Regions from separate parts of the Homo sapiens genome. Here all the other regions are linked to region 1. The links are contacts of gene promoters, found by promoter capture Hi-C in blood cells and fetal thymus (Javierre and others, 2016). All regions are on one chromosome and are shown on one strand. The core of a region is centred on a gene start or on the middle of the fragment in contact, and the rest is flanking DNA. Distances in the headings are between cores, read along the strand shown. Region 1 holds the start of MYO1A (myosin IA). Region 2 has its middle 61 kb from the start of HSD17B6. Region 3 has its middle 43 kb from the start of HSD17B6. Region 4 has its middle 77 kb from the start of HSD17B6. Region 5 overlaps LRP1 (LDL receptor related protein 1).

The links. The method cuts DNA at HindIII sites, captures the fragments that hold promoters and counts their contacts. A CHiCAGO score of 5 or more calls a contact.
Region 2: a fragment that was not itself captured here is called in contact with the fragment with the promoter of MYO1A in region 1 in 4 of 17 cell types (M2 macrophages, erythroblasts, M0 macrophages and 1 more); the score reaches 6.6 in M2 macrophages.
Region 3: a contact is called between a fragment that was not itself captured here and the fragment with the promoter of MYO1A in region 1, in 3 of 17 cell types (erythroblasts, M2 macrophages and M0 macrophages). The highest score is 7.7, in erythroblasts.
Region 4: a contact is called between a fragment that was not itself captured here and the fragment with the promoter of MYO1A in region 1, in 1 of 17 cell types (M0 macrophages). The highest score is 5.1, in M0 macrophages.
Region 5: a fragment that was not itself captured here is called in contact with the fragment with the promoter of MYO1A in region 1 in 2 of 17 cell types (erythroblasts and naive CD8 T cells); the score reaches 6.3 in erythroblasts.

What each region holds. Positions count from the first base shown.
Region 1 is chr12:57,048,829-57,051,652 of GRCh38, reverse strand. MYO1A (myosin IA) reads left to right here and starts at 1,524. Exons shown (of 28, transcript NM_005379.4): 1 at 1,524-1,766. The HindIII fragment of the contact is 12,080 bases long and covers 1-2,824 here.
Region 2 is chr12:56,823,255-56,826,060 of GRCh38, reverse strand. No RefSeq gene overlaps it. Among named protein-coding and RNA genes, the nearest start is that of HSD17B6, 61 kb to the right of the region's middle. The HindIII fragment of the contact is 1,687 bases long and covers 636-2,322 here.
Region 3 is chr12:56,804,732-56,807,431 of GRCh38, reverse strand. No RefSeq gene overlaps it. Among named protein-coding and RNA genes, the nearest start is that of HSD17B6, 43 kb to the right of the region's middle. RefSeq lists an enhancer at 2,113-2,700. The HindIII fragment of the contact is 383 bases long and covers 1,222-1,604 here.
Region 4 is chr12:56,839,437-56,842,136 of GRCh38, reverse strand. No RefSeq gene overlaps it. Among named protein-coding and RNA genes, the nearest start is that of HSD17B6, 77 kb to the right of the region's middle. The HindIII fragment of the contact is 725 bases long and covers 1,019-1,743 here.
Region 5 is chr12:57,189,615-57,192,314 of GRCh38, reverse strand. It overlaps LRP1 (LDL receptor related protein 1), which reads right to left. Exons shown (of 89, transcript NM_002332.3): 43 at 1,306-1,510; 44 at 803-995. Among named protein-coding and RNA genes, the nearest start is that of MIR1228, 3.5 kb to the left of the region's middle. The HindIII fragment of the contact is 5,411 bases long and covers 1-2,700 here.

The DNA.
Region 1 (2,824 bases), core at 275-2,774:
TTACACCTGAGAGTGCCATCTCATTTTAGAGTCACTTTTCTCGTGAGTAAGCACATAGTAGGCACTCAGTTGACTGAATGGGTGGACATGCAGGTAAACCCCAGATGGCTGCAGATTCCTGGCCTAGAGAACATGAGACTTGGGTTTTGGTGCCAGCTCTGCCAGGTTTGCAGTGGTGTGACCCTGGAAAAGTGGTTTTCTCACTCTAGATCTGTTTCCTCCACTGGTAAATAGGTGATATTTGTCACTTCTGCCTCTAGGACATGGATACTGCTCCACCTACACATAGCATTATGTTTTGATGTCACTTCCACTCAGCTTTCTCTCTTTTCCTTGCCCCCCTCCACCTTCAAATATATGTAGTAGATCAATAAATTATGTAAAGGCAGGTTGATAATAGAACTGCTGATGTGCCAGGCTTACGCAGAGTGCTTCTGTGAGAGCCATAGAGTTTGGACCTTGCACCAAGCAGCCATAGCTGAGAGTTGGAGAATCAAGTCTCTCTTCAGTTAAGTGTCTATAATTACCTAATTTGTTCTTTCTGCATGCCTGGGAGAGAGGATGGTAGGCAGAGGGGGCTTGCTGTTTTTAGGAATTTTCCTGGCTGGATGAAGGGGTACTTCTTATCTATCAGAGGGAGCTATTACATTAGCTCAGGGTCTTACTCAGTATCCTAGTGCTGACGAATTAAAATTAGAAACTTCAGAACTTGGGCTGCAACTTTTGGCAAACTTAGGGAGCTGCATTCTGTTCCTGGTTCTGCCATGCACTAGCATGGAACTGTGGGCACATTGTGTAACCTCTCTGAGTCTGGTGTTTGTTCCTAGTTTTCCATTTTAATGGAGTATCTGTATTGCCTTCCTCGGGGTGGTGCTATTCAGTGAGGCAATGCAAGGGGGAGTTCAATGAAACTGGGACATCTATACACATGTGAGGTATTATTACTAATCACTTTAATCTTTGGGTCTCTATGATAGGGTCTGATTCATGGGGGAAGGGAAGTGGAGAAGAATTTGGGGATTTTGTCTGCTTAGCTCTCCAAGTAATCTCATTAACATCCCCTGACTCCCGATAAGATAGGAAGAGTAGGTATGAGGGAGGTACTGTTTTTTTGCTAGGAAGACACTCTTTGTAAAGACGTGTCTCGCCATGTTGCCTAGGCTGGTCTCGAACTCCTGGGCTCAAGTGATCCTCCCGCCTTGGCCTCCCAAAGTGCTGGGAGTATAGGCATGAGCAACCGCACTTGGCCCTACCTGTCCTTGACAAAATTCCTGACTTCTCTTTGGGAAATATTTTCCTTGGCTATAAATTCCATTCTTCCAGCTTTCATTTCCAAATTTGGGAGACAATGGAGCAAGAACCCTCCTTTAGTTAAGCCTCTCAGCTAACGCCAGCCAGATACCCTTTCCTACCTAGAGGGAGCTTGAGTGTCTCCCTCTGGGGCTTCAGGCCTGTGAAGGGTTAAGTGAGCCACACCCTCAGCAGGAACAGTCTGGACTTTGTGCTGATCAGCCATCTCCGGCCTCTCCTGGTTTGACTGGCACAGGGAGCCTGGGCTGGAAGAGGCAGCAAAAGGGAAAATCAGAAGAGTGGACACTGGCAAGAGGAGGGCAGCCTTTTTCCCAGCTTCCTTGCACCATGGACAGCTCCCATTAAGCCACCTCTCCATCCTGGGGCCAGGACTCTTATGCCCCATTCCTGTCAAATTGAGATTTCATCCACCATTCTCCAAGGACAGTGAAGTTATACCCTAGTTCCAGTGTTGGGTGAGTCCTGCCTTGACCTGTCACTGCTTCTCTTTAACACCTTGGGGCGCCCCATCTGGGGCCTCTTGCCTTTTTCCCTTCCCCACCCTCAACCAGTCACATTCCCACTCCCTTCAAATCCAAATCCAAAGAAGATGACTGCTCCCAACCCACCTTCTGCTTCTCACCCTTCCCTGCCAAGTTAGTTAAAAGACTTAGCTTTTTGTAAAATCTAGAAAATACAAAAATAGTATCTACTTCATGGGGATATTGTAAGCACTAAATGAATTAGTGTATGTACAGTGCTTAGAGCCCTGCCCAGTTCGTGGTAAACGCTGCATGATTCCTAGAGACTGCTATTATTGATATTCTTATTGCTTCCTCAGTTGTGTCCTTCTGGTAAGTGACAAGTGCTCTCTTTTCCTAGAGCTTGGGGAAAGCCAAGTGAAGGGAGAAGGAAGCCTGTGCCCCTTCTTGCCCCACTTCCGTTCCTCCTTCCTCCGCTCCTCCACCCGGGTTCAGAGATGCAATAGCATAGGAGGATGTGTCTCTTTCATTCCTGTTCAGGAGTGGCCTTGACCATTGTACTAATAATCCTGTCCTGTGCCTGGCCACTCTGCCTACTCAGTCTCACAGGAAAGACTGAGGAGGGCCAGGTTTCCTCCTTAGGGAACACCTGCCATGTGCCTACTGCATGGGGGCCAAGCCCCACCACCCTCCCTGTAGTTCCAACTGTGCTCCTCCTTGCCCACTCCCGCAAGAAGCTAGGTGTGTCCCTCTGGGGCAAAGTCCATGCCAGAAGTTTACAGGAGTGGGTGTAAAAGCTAGAGATGGAAAAATAGAGACAGACATGTAGCACATCCAGAGGTCCTGACAACTGCCTGTTTGTTGGGGAAGCAAACCCCACTTTCATTTTCTTTGGGAAATTCCAATCTCTTATGGAGGAATCCTGCCTCTATCCTCTATAATTCTGCCTTGTCAAGTTCCCATTTTAAAAATGAAGCTCACTGTAGCAATGACAGGGAAGGAGAGACCTTTGGAAGAACTTCTGAAATGGTTATGGGTAGGTTGGGTGTCTT
Region 2 (2,806 bases), core at 230-2,729, 230 kb after region 1:
CAAAACTTACTACAAAGCTATGATAATCAAACCAGTGTGTTACTGACATAAAGACAGATACCTAGACCAACGGAATAGAATAGATAACACAGAAATAAACCCTTGCATATATGGTCAAATGATTTTTAACGAGGGTGCCAAGACCATTCAATGGGGAAAGGACAATCTTTTCAACAAATGGTAACGGGAAAACTGAATATTCACCTGCAAAAGAATGAAGTTAGACCTGTACCTTACACTATATGCAAAAATTAACTCAAAATAGATCAAAGACCTAAATTTAAGAACTAAAACTATAAAACTCCTAGAAGAAAATACAGGGAGATGGCCGAGTGTGGTGGCTCACACATGTAGTCCCAACACTTTGGGAGGCCACAGCAGGTGGATCACTTGAGCCCAGGAATTGGAGACCTGCCTGGGCAACATGGCAAGACCCCATCTCTACAAAAAATACAAAAATTAGCCAGGCATGGTGGCATGCACCTGTAGTTCCAGCTACTAGGGAGGCTGAGGAGGGAGGATTGTTTGAGCCCAGGAGGCAGAGGTTGCAGTGAGCTCTGATCATGCCACTGCACTCCAACCTGGGCAACAGAGCAAGACCCTGTCTCAAAAAACAAAAAAACAGGGAGAAAGCTTCATGACGTTGGATTTGGCAGTGATTTCTTGGATATGACACTGAAAGCACAGGCAACAAGAGGAAAAAAAATGGACACATTGGACTACATCAAAATTAGAAACTTCTGTCCACTCCTGAATTTTTGTTAATATATTTTGCTGCCGAAACAAAGAGTTTGCAGGTTTGGTATACCCTCTGATAGTGGGGGCATATTGACAGCTGCTATGTCCATCACAAACACATGCCTTCCTCTGCAAAAGAGTAACTGTGCAGCCAATTATCCTCAAATGACATGAACTTCTTCCTCGACATTTCTCCCTTAAATTTCCAGGGAAGATTTTGATTTATTTACTTAACAAAACAACCCTCGCAAATTTACCAGGTGGTTGAAAAATAATTATAATAGTAATAATAGGCCAAGTGCAGTGGCTCACACCTGTACTCCCAACACTTTGAGAGGCCAAGGCAGGAGGATCCCTAGAGCCCTGAAGTTTGAGACCAGCCTGGGCAACAGAGGGAGACACCATCTCTATAAAAAAAATTTTAAATTAGTCAGATGTGGTAGTACACCTGTAGTCCCATCTGCTCAGGAGGCTGAGGTGAGCAGATCACTTAAGCCCAGGAGTTTGAGGCTGCAGTGAGCTGTGATCGCCACTGCTGCACTGAAGCCTGGATGACTCTGCCTCTAAAAAAAAAAAAATTAATAGTAATAAGAAAATAATATTATAATGGACACTATCACAAAAGGCAAATACCTTAAACTATTCCTGCAGTGTTGTTTTGTCCAGGCCGAAACCAAAACTGGAGCCCCAAAGTCTGTAGCAGGGAAATTCCCAAGAAGGATTATCTGTAAACCATTTGGAGATGGGGCTGGTTGAGATTCCAAAGAGAGAAGCACTAAACACCAGGGTAATTAGTCTAAAGTATTTATCAGGGGAACTTACTTACAAAAGGGGCTGCAGGAATCCTCTCAACAGCAAGCGAAAGAGATGTTCCACCTAGCTATGTCTGCAATAAGGGGGTTGTGTTATGGAGTTTATATGAGGGTTTGAGGAGTTTGGTTAAGGGCTGGGGCTAGTTTCTTTCAGTGTTCTGGACAACAACCTAAACATGTTTACCAGAGCCTGGGAATGTTCAAGGACCTGACTTAACCCTGCAAAAAAACATGCAACTGGCCAGGTCACAGAGTGGTCAAGGCACTCTGTATTTCTTAGTCGGGATAGATAAAAAGGTTGGGAAAACTAGAGGACCCTATGAATGTATTAGCCAAATAGTATTTGATCAAAAGCATAAATGAAAATTGATGATCCCAAGCATTCATGTGGGAAATCAACTTTTTTTCCTAGAGCTTATCCAATAGTCTAGACAAAATTCTATTTCTGTAAAAAGTAATCAACTTATAAGATGTAGCTAAAAGAGTAATGATCAATATTGTTTCAGATTGCCTAGCACATTTTCTCATGTTCCAAATACAGATCTCTGTGTCCTCCCAGTTCACTCTCATCCAACCCAGCCCCCCCCCATGTCATTTAAACAAGGAAAAGATATGACTTTGCTTTTATTATCTAGGTTAGACAAAATGTTCCCTGAGTTTCCATCAAGTTTTAATTTTGCCAAAGAAATATAATCACAGTTTTCTTAAAAGCCTGTCCCAAGTAGTCATGCCTCTATCTCTGAATTTATTGGCTATCCGGTTATCTTAAGCTTTAACCAGCACAAGTTTCTTTGACGAATTCTTACTTGCATTTAGAAAGGTCATGTTCTTCAGTTTCTGGAGATTGCCTTGAGCTGAGAACAGGCTCCATCAAAGGTCATGGATGGCAGAATGGGCTGGCCATGAAAGACCTCTGAACTCCAGTGGAAAAGCAGATGGAACTTGGAAAGTAAACTAAGGCTACCTCAAAACAACGGCCTTTGTCTTAGGGCAGGCAAGTCAATAGATTATATGAAAATTGTTCTGGGCCGGGCACGGTGGCTCAGGCCTGTAATCCCAGCACTTTGGGAGGCTGAGGCAGGTGGATCACCTGAGATCAGGAGTTCGAGACCAGCCTGGCCAACATGGTGAAACCCCATCTCTACTAATAATACAAAAACTAGCTGGGCGTGGTGGCACACGCCTGTAATCCCAGATACTCGGGAGGCTGAGGCAAGAGGATTGCTTGAACCTGGGAGGTGGAGGTTGCAGTGAGC
Region 3 (2,700 bases), core at 164-2,663, 240 kb after region 1:
CTCACTCTGTCACCCAGGCTGGAGTGCAGTGGTGCAATCTCAGCTCACTGCAAGCTCCACCTCCCAGGTTCACACCATTCTCCTGCCTCAGCCTCCTGAGTATCTGGGACTACAGGTGCCCACCACCATGCCCGGCTAATTTTTTGTATTTTTAGTAGAGACAGGGTTTCACCATGTTAGCCAGGATGGTCTCGATCTCCTGACCTCATGATCCACCTGCCTCAGCTTCCCAAAGTGCTGGGATTACAGGCGTGAGTCACTGTGCCTGGCCAATGAGCTTTATATCTTATATAGGACCAGGAAAGGGTATGAGACTTATCTGATTGGAAAAATAGCAGTACCATTGGAGGTTGAAAATTGGACCCCAATGATGAAATAGGAGAATAGAAGAGGAAACACTTTCAGGTGTGTATACCGGAGGGCTTATGAAGGACAAGGACTAAGGCCCTGAATTACACCAACCTATTCATGGTAGAATAGGGATTTGATGAGAATCCCACTGGCTTCCTGGAAAGGCTAAGAGGGAGGGGCCTTGGTAAAACACACCTCTCTATCTCCTGATTCAGTAGCAGAATAGCTGGTCCTAGGCACTGACTTTATCACACAGGTGGCCCCTGATGTCAGGAGGGGGCAGCAGAAACGGGCTGTGGGACCAGATGGTACTTTGGAGGGCTTCCTGGTAGGAGCCACGTTGGTCTTTTGCAGTGGGAACTGGGAGGAAGTCCAGAAAAGAGGGGAGATACAGGAAAAAGGCAGAGGCTCTAATAGCTGCTCTGTGGGCTCATGGACCCCAGAGTCCCTGATATGCACCTGTTGACTACTGCAAATGTGGCAGGCCAGGTCATTTTAGGAGGGACTGTCTGGACAGTGTGGGGAGGCCACCTCGACCCTGTCCAGTTTGTGATGAGGACAATTAGAGGGCGGACTATCCCTGGAGACACGGGTCACCCGGTCCAGGGCCGGCCTCCCTTATAGTGCAGCGGGACTGACAGGCTCTGGGGCTCCTCTCCCCAGCTCCGGTTGTTCAGACTACCATTGCCACCCAGGAGCCCCAGGTGATTCTGGGCATCAAGGGAAGGAGGGTTGACCTCCTTCTGGACTCTGGAGCAGGTCTTTCAGTTCTCCTCTTCAATCTAGGCCCTCCTCCTCCTTTGGCACAACCGTGAGGGGCATCTCAGGTCTCCTTCTGCCACTGTCATAGTCCTGTGAATACAGGAAGCTTTTTCTTGCAACAGGTTAGCTTTTTTTCCTTTCAGGAGGCACCTTATTAGGCCAGGTCCCCAATTCCTGGGACTCCCATTCTCTCCCTTGTTTGAGGAGGAACTGGTCCCACAGCTTCACCTGCTTATGATAGGGAGGCAACAGAGGAGCAGCCCCAGCCAGTTGCTAGCTGCAATTTGGTGAGGGCTGCCTGGGACTAATTTAATGGGCCCATACACCCTCTTGAGGCACCTTTTTGTCCCAAGGTTTCTGATAATTTTGGAGATTGTGAACAGGAGTTTCTTTGAGTGAACGGAACTAACAGAAGACTGAAGTAATCTTTTTTGACATTTTGCTTGAACCATTGATGATCCTTCGTTTTGTTTTTCAGAATCAAGGAAGCTTTCCTTTTGAGATATTTGTAGCTTTTGACAGTTGTGAGGGTGAACCAACCAGTGATCTCTGACTGCAGCTCAGAAGAAACAAAAAGGATGGGCCGTCAAACTCCAATGGTCATGCAAATGGAGCCTCGGACAATGGCTCCCTTTTACTGGAGACCCTTATATAGGCCCCTGAGAGAAAACCTGACTGCCATTTTCCCAAAAACAATGCCCCCTGTCAGCATGAAGCAGTTAAGAATGGTCACTGTCCCTATCCTAACGGCAGTTAGATGTACCTCTACAGAGTGGTGATTGATGGCAGTGGTGGGCCATCTAGAGTGGCCGCTGCCATCACACAGGCTGCAGCAGGGAGGTACAGCCAGAGCTGTATACTCCATGCAGCTGGTGGGAGCCTCAGACAAGTGGGAGCCCTGCCCCTTCTGATTTGTTAGGGTGGGAGCTCCCCAGGTGCAGACACAAGTCTGCCCAAGTTATGGCTGCAAACTGGGCCTCCCAAAGCACAGAGCAAGAAGAAGCCCCACCCCCTGGGGCACAGGTTAAGCTGCCCAAGTCATGGCTGCAGACCCAGGCCTCCCTGTGCTCTTGGGGGTGCTGGGAGCAGGGAGGAGCCCTGTCCTCCTAGGCGTGGCTGCAGCCACCCAAGTCGTGACTGCAGAGCATGACCTCCCACTCCACAGAGCAGGACCCCCACCCCCTGGATGCAGCTGCAGACACCCAAACTGTGGCTGTGAACCCAGGCATCCCTGCACTCTTGGAGACCCAGGATGGTCCTCTCCCCCTGCCCTCACAGGCTTGGAAGTGCCTGCTCCTGCCGCCTGGCTTCTCCCTGCTGTCGGTACCCACTCCGATCTAAGAGCAAAGTCATGGTCAAGCCTGAGCTCTGTCACAGCCCAGCCAGGTGTGTACATGCTCAGGGAAGTGTTGACACACCAGCCCCCTGCCACTTCAGCCCGCCTCTGGACCTTGGGTGCCAAAGAGCACAGGAGGGAAGCTGAGGGGGTGATAAGGGCAGTTTGGCACTGGCCTGCAGGTGCCCCTTGGCACGTACAGCCTGGGTGCCATGAATGGCAGCAGGAGGCAGACAGGTTCCTGGGGGGAA
Region 4 (2,700 bases), core at 132-2,631, 210 kb after region 1:
TCAACCCAGAAATCCCATTACTGGGTATATACCCAAAGGAATGTAAGTTACTCTATCATAAAGACACATACATGCATATGTTCATTCCAGCACTATTCACAATAGCAAAGAGATGGAATCAACCTAAATGCCCATCAATGATAGACTGGATAAAGAATGTGGTACATAAACACAATGGAATACTATGTAGCCATTCAAAAGAATGAAATCACGTCCTTTGCAGGGACATGGATGGAATTGGAGGTCATTATCCTTAGCAGACTAATGCAGGAACAGAAAACCAAATACTACATGTTCTCATTTATAAGTGGAAGCTAAATGATGAGAACACATGGATATATAGAGGGGAACAATGAACACTGGGGTCTATCAGAGGGTTGAGGGTGGGGATAGGGAGAGGATCAAGAAAAATAACTAATGGGTACTAGCCTTAATACCTGGGTGATGAAATAATCTACACAACAAACCCCATGATACACGTTTACCTATGTAACAATCCTTCACGTGTACCCCGATCTTAAAATAAATGTTAAAAAAAGAAACCTTTCTTCTTTTCTAATATAGGCATTTAGTGTTATAAATTTCTCTCTAAGCACAGCTTAGCCCCACTCCACAAACTTTAATGTACCACATTTTCATTTTCACTCAGTTGAAATATATTCTAATTTTTCTTTGTATTTCTTTTTTAATCCATGCATGTATCATTTAGCCAAATATTTTGTAATTTTCCAACTACTGGGAGATTTTTTGGATACTTTTCTGTTATTTATTCCTAATTTAATTCCATTGTGGTCAGAGAACATACTTTTTAAGGTTTAGAAGATTTTCTTTCTTTCCCAAGGTGAAGGAGAGACCCCTGCCATGGGACTCTCCCTGATAGCCCTCGTGGGCCTGTACTACCTTCTGCGCTGGTAGTGGGAGAGACAGGTGGTGAGCCTCCCTTGAGATAACTGCTTCATCATGGGCTGTGACTCGGGCTTCGGGAATCTGCTGGCAAGACAGCTGGATACGCAAAGCTTGAGGGTGCTGGCTATGTGTCTGATGGAGAAGGAGGCAGAGCAGCTGAGGGGCCAGACTTCAGACAGGCTGGAGACGGTGACCCTGGACATCACCAAGACAGAGAATATCGCTGCAGCCACCCAGGGAGTGAAGGATGCATGGGGGACAGAGTACAGTGCAGGGGATGGATGGCGGGGGCAGTGGGGGAGTCTGTCCTTCAGACAAATTGCTTTGTCCTCAATGTCTCTGGTTAGCCAGATAATGTTCCAGGTACAAAATATTAGGGGTTAGCTTAGGCATATACTGGGGATGTGTTTTCATTGCTGACAGATACATTATGAATGATGACTGTTCTTAGGACTGACAAATACAAGCATTTTTATGAGAACAGTGAATGAATGCTTGGAATCAAGATTGCTCTGAAATATTCAGGTTGTGTGGTACGTGTATATATCTGGGTAGAAGGAGGGAATGAATGAAAGATAGGGAGGTATAGATAATAAAGGTATAGAAACTGGTATAGAAAGCAAACTGCAAGAACAGTGGCCCTCAAAAATCCAGGGCATGAAAATGCTAACTTAGTAAATAAGAGGTGCTTATTCTTTTTCACTCTTATTTGGAGAAACTTACTTCACAAAAGGATTCTTAGCTGCATCCTTTAAAGCAGGAGGTAATTACACTGTCTACATTTTATTTTGCCTTACTGAGGGTGGATCACTTGTGTAAATCAGTGTTTTCCAAGCTTACTTAATCATAAGATGAGAAAGACCTGATTAATCGAGGGGGATTCTTAATAAGTTTTATTATTCAAAAAGTACCCCTAGCTGAGTCTTAGTATGAGGCAATCAAATCACATCTATATTCTGATCACTAAGGCATGGTCTGTGTTTTTCTAGGTGTTGTTTTCCTACCATCAGTTGTAAGCTAGAGTTTTTGAAGCAGCCCAGGGAATTGGCAGAAACTTTGTGAGCCTAACCAAAGACTGTAAGACAAGAGCCAAATTTCAATGATTGCTGGAGAAACTCCAAAGCAGGCCATTTGGGGCCCTCTGGTGGCTGGGGGGTACACCGAGCAGGACAGCAGGACCAGCTGCAGCTGAGTTCCAACATGCCATTTTACACATTCCCTTGACTTATCATGGCAGATCTTGACTCTCATCCTTGCATCAATGTGGCACAGGCCTCAGGGCCAGCTGGCATCCTACACAAGTCCTCTGAGGGGTGAGGGACAGAAAACCCCACAGGGAGAGGCTGAAGCCAAAAGGTCTCCTAATCAGCCTGAGGCACCAGGAATAAACTTAAGGTCCAACAAAGTCAGGTCTTTTGTCCTATTGCCATGAGGAAGACTGCATACCAGGGGACTCATGGGTTGTCTGATCAAAGGAAAAGAGAATTATTATAGGATATGGAGATGAAGCAATTTCTTGATAGACTCCAAGCAAAGCAGGGCTCTGTGAAAAGAGATCAACTCCAGGTCTGGATTACAAAATGGTCCCAAGGTCTTGTTTCATTAGAAAGCACAGTTTAGATGTGAAATGTTTCCAGCAACCCCTATCTAAAGTTCTGCACCTGGGTTATATAATGAGGCTGCTTCTGTGTCAAAGTGACTCAGGCAAGGGTGGGATATTCATTTTTATGATATAATTTTTTTAGACATGAGGTTTTGCTTTATTCCCCAAACTGGTCTCAAACTTCTTGCCTC
Region 5 (2,700 bases), core at 22-2,521, 140 kb before region 1:
CCAGGCGTGTGCAGAGTCCATCTGTGTGCGTAGATGCCTTGGTGGGAAGGGGTACAGGAGCACTGGGGGTTTTGCGGTTCCAAAGGTGTGTACAGCTGTGTGTGTCTGTGTAATGGAGGCCCAGGGAGAGCAGGACCAGGCAAGTGTGTGTGGGGTGTGGTGTGTGGGGTGTGGGGTGTTTATAGTATGTCTGTGAGATGTGTGTGTGTGTGTGTGGCATGTTTGTGGTACGTGTGGTGTGTGGTGTGTGTGTGTGCTGTGTGGTGTGTGTGTGATGTGTGTTGTGGGTGGTAGGTGTGTGGCATGTGTATGTGTGTCCTATGTGTGGTGTGTATGTGTCATGTGTGGTGTGTGTATGTGGTGTGTGTATGTGGTGTGTGTGTGGTATGTGTAGTGTGTGTGGTGGTGTGTGTATGTGGTATGTGTGGGGTGTGTGTGGTATGTGTGGTGTGTATGTGGTGTGTGGTGTGTGTGTGGTATGTGTGTGGTGTGGTATATGTGGGGTGTGCATGTGATATGTGTGGTGTGTGTATGTGGGGTGTGTATGTGTGTGTATGTGTTGGGGGTGTATGTGTATGTGGTGTGTGGGGGGTGTGTATGGTGTGGTGTGTATGTGTTGAGTGTGTGGGAGGGGTGTGGTGTGTGTATGTGGTGTGGTGTGTGTAGTGTAGTATGTGTGGGATGTGTGTGTGTGGTATGTGTAGGGTGCGTGTGGTATGTGCGATGTGTGTGTGGGGTGTGTGTTTGTATGTCCATGCACGACAGGCAGGAGGGTGAGGCAGCTGGCGGCAGCCCCACTCACAGCTGTTGGTGTCGTTGGCCACGGCGATGATGCCCATGGGCTGCTGGGGGATGTCCACGCGCAGCAGCTTCATGTTGCTGCCCACGTGCTTGTTGGCCCGCTGCACTGCCCGCCGCACCCAGTCAGTCCAGAAAATGTGCTCCCCATACACGGCCAGCCCGAAGGGGTGGACAGGCTCTGACTTTAGGATCACCTGTGGAGACAGCACCATCACCGTCACAGCATCGCTCAGGCCTCTTGCCCAGTCTCCACCGGACCACAGCCTGGCCTGGCCTCTGACAGCTACAGAATGAGGGCCCGCAGAGGCATCCTGCTATCTCCCTCGTCTAGCTGATGAGGAGCAAGCTGGACAGGGTGGGGTTGACCGAGGCTGGGGCCTGGAGGCACTCACCTCCTCCCAGCTGTTCCCACCATGTCTGTGCCTGGACGGTCTTGGTTGACGGCTGACCCTGGCCCTGGCCTCCCCTCAGCCGCCCGCCAGCTCACCCACCCCGCAGACTCACATAGCGGTGGGAGCCGTCATACTCGCACCGCTCGATCTTGTCCAGGGTGGCGTCAGAGAAGTAGAGCTTCTCGGCACGGTGGTCGATGGCCAGGCCATTGGGGGTACGGATGTCCTTCTCGATAAGGGTCAGGACATTGGCTCCCGAGAGCGCCGCCCGCATGATGCTGGGATGCTGCTCATTCCAGTTGGTCCAGAACATGAGGCTGGGGGAAGAGGGTCCAGAGATCAGGAGGCAAAGCCTGAGAATCCACAACAGAGGGCACAGGCCAGGACGCGTAGGCACCTGGAACCTGGAAGCCTGCCAGGGCAAAGCCACCCCAGAGCCATAGAGGCCAGCAGTGCCCCAATGCCCAGGAAGGGCCCCACTATTGCACAGACAGTTCACACACGAGGTGGCTGAGTGTGAGGGGATGAGGGCCAAGTGTGAGATATTCACATTGCAGTATCTGGGCAGTGACCGTCTACTTGCTGAGAAGAGAGCCGGTGCAGCCAAGTGAGACAGGCCCTGGGGTTCCAGCCCTGGCTCCACCACCCACCAGCTAGGTGCCCTTAGGCAACTTACTCAACTGCCCTGTGCCTCAGTTTCCTCCTCTATGAGGTGGGGATGGTAGCACCACCTGCCTCGCAGGATGTGAGAGTGGAAGAAGTTAATCTCCATCTTAAGGACAGATGGCACACACTATGTGAGTATTTCCCAGGAGTTTATTCTTAACTGCTCTCTTCTGTGCAGGGAGGCTGGCTGTCTTCCAGATCATTCAGGAAGCCCTTGTGGAGCTGAGTGTGGCATGTGTCCCAGGTCCTGGGGTATGTGGGTCCTATCCTCAAGCAGCTCTCAAGAGTCCCCTTCTCCGTACTTTGAGGCCTTTGCATGTTTGGGGTTGGAGCCACCGTTCTGCCTCGTAACGGCTCCAACTTTGAATGAGCCTGTCGCCCCTCTGAGCCCTGGTTTCCTCTCAGTAAAGGAGGCAATGGGAACAGCCAGCCCCCAATTATGCCGTGCTCCTTGTGGGGTGGTGCTGAGGCTGGAGGGGGGCTGTGGAAGGCCTCAGGGCTGGTCATGCACTACCCTGGGTGTGACAGAGTGGTCCTTGGACCACCGGCATTGGATGGTGAGCCCTGGGTCCTCGGTCCCAGAGCTTGTCACTCAGCTAGGCCCAGGGCGGGGCAGGGGACTCCACATTCTCTTGCTCCTAGGCGATCCTTAGGCACAGTGGAGTCTGAGACCACCAAGCCACACAAAAGCCAGCTCCGTTCTCCAGTTCCCTAACAGGACCTGCCCCCGCCCCCACCCCAGTGCCTCTGGCCTCCTCCTACCTCTGCCCCTCACCATTCTGGCCACAGATCTGTCCTCTGGCCTGTGAACTTGTCTCCTCAGACCTCTCCAGGTCACACC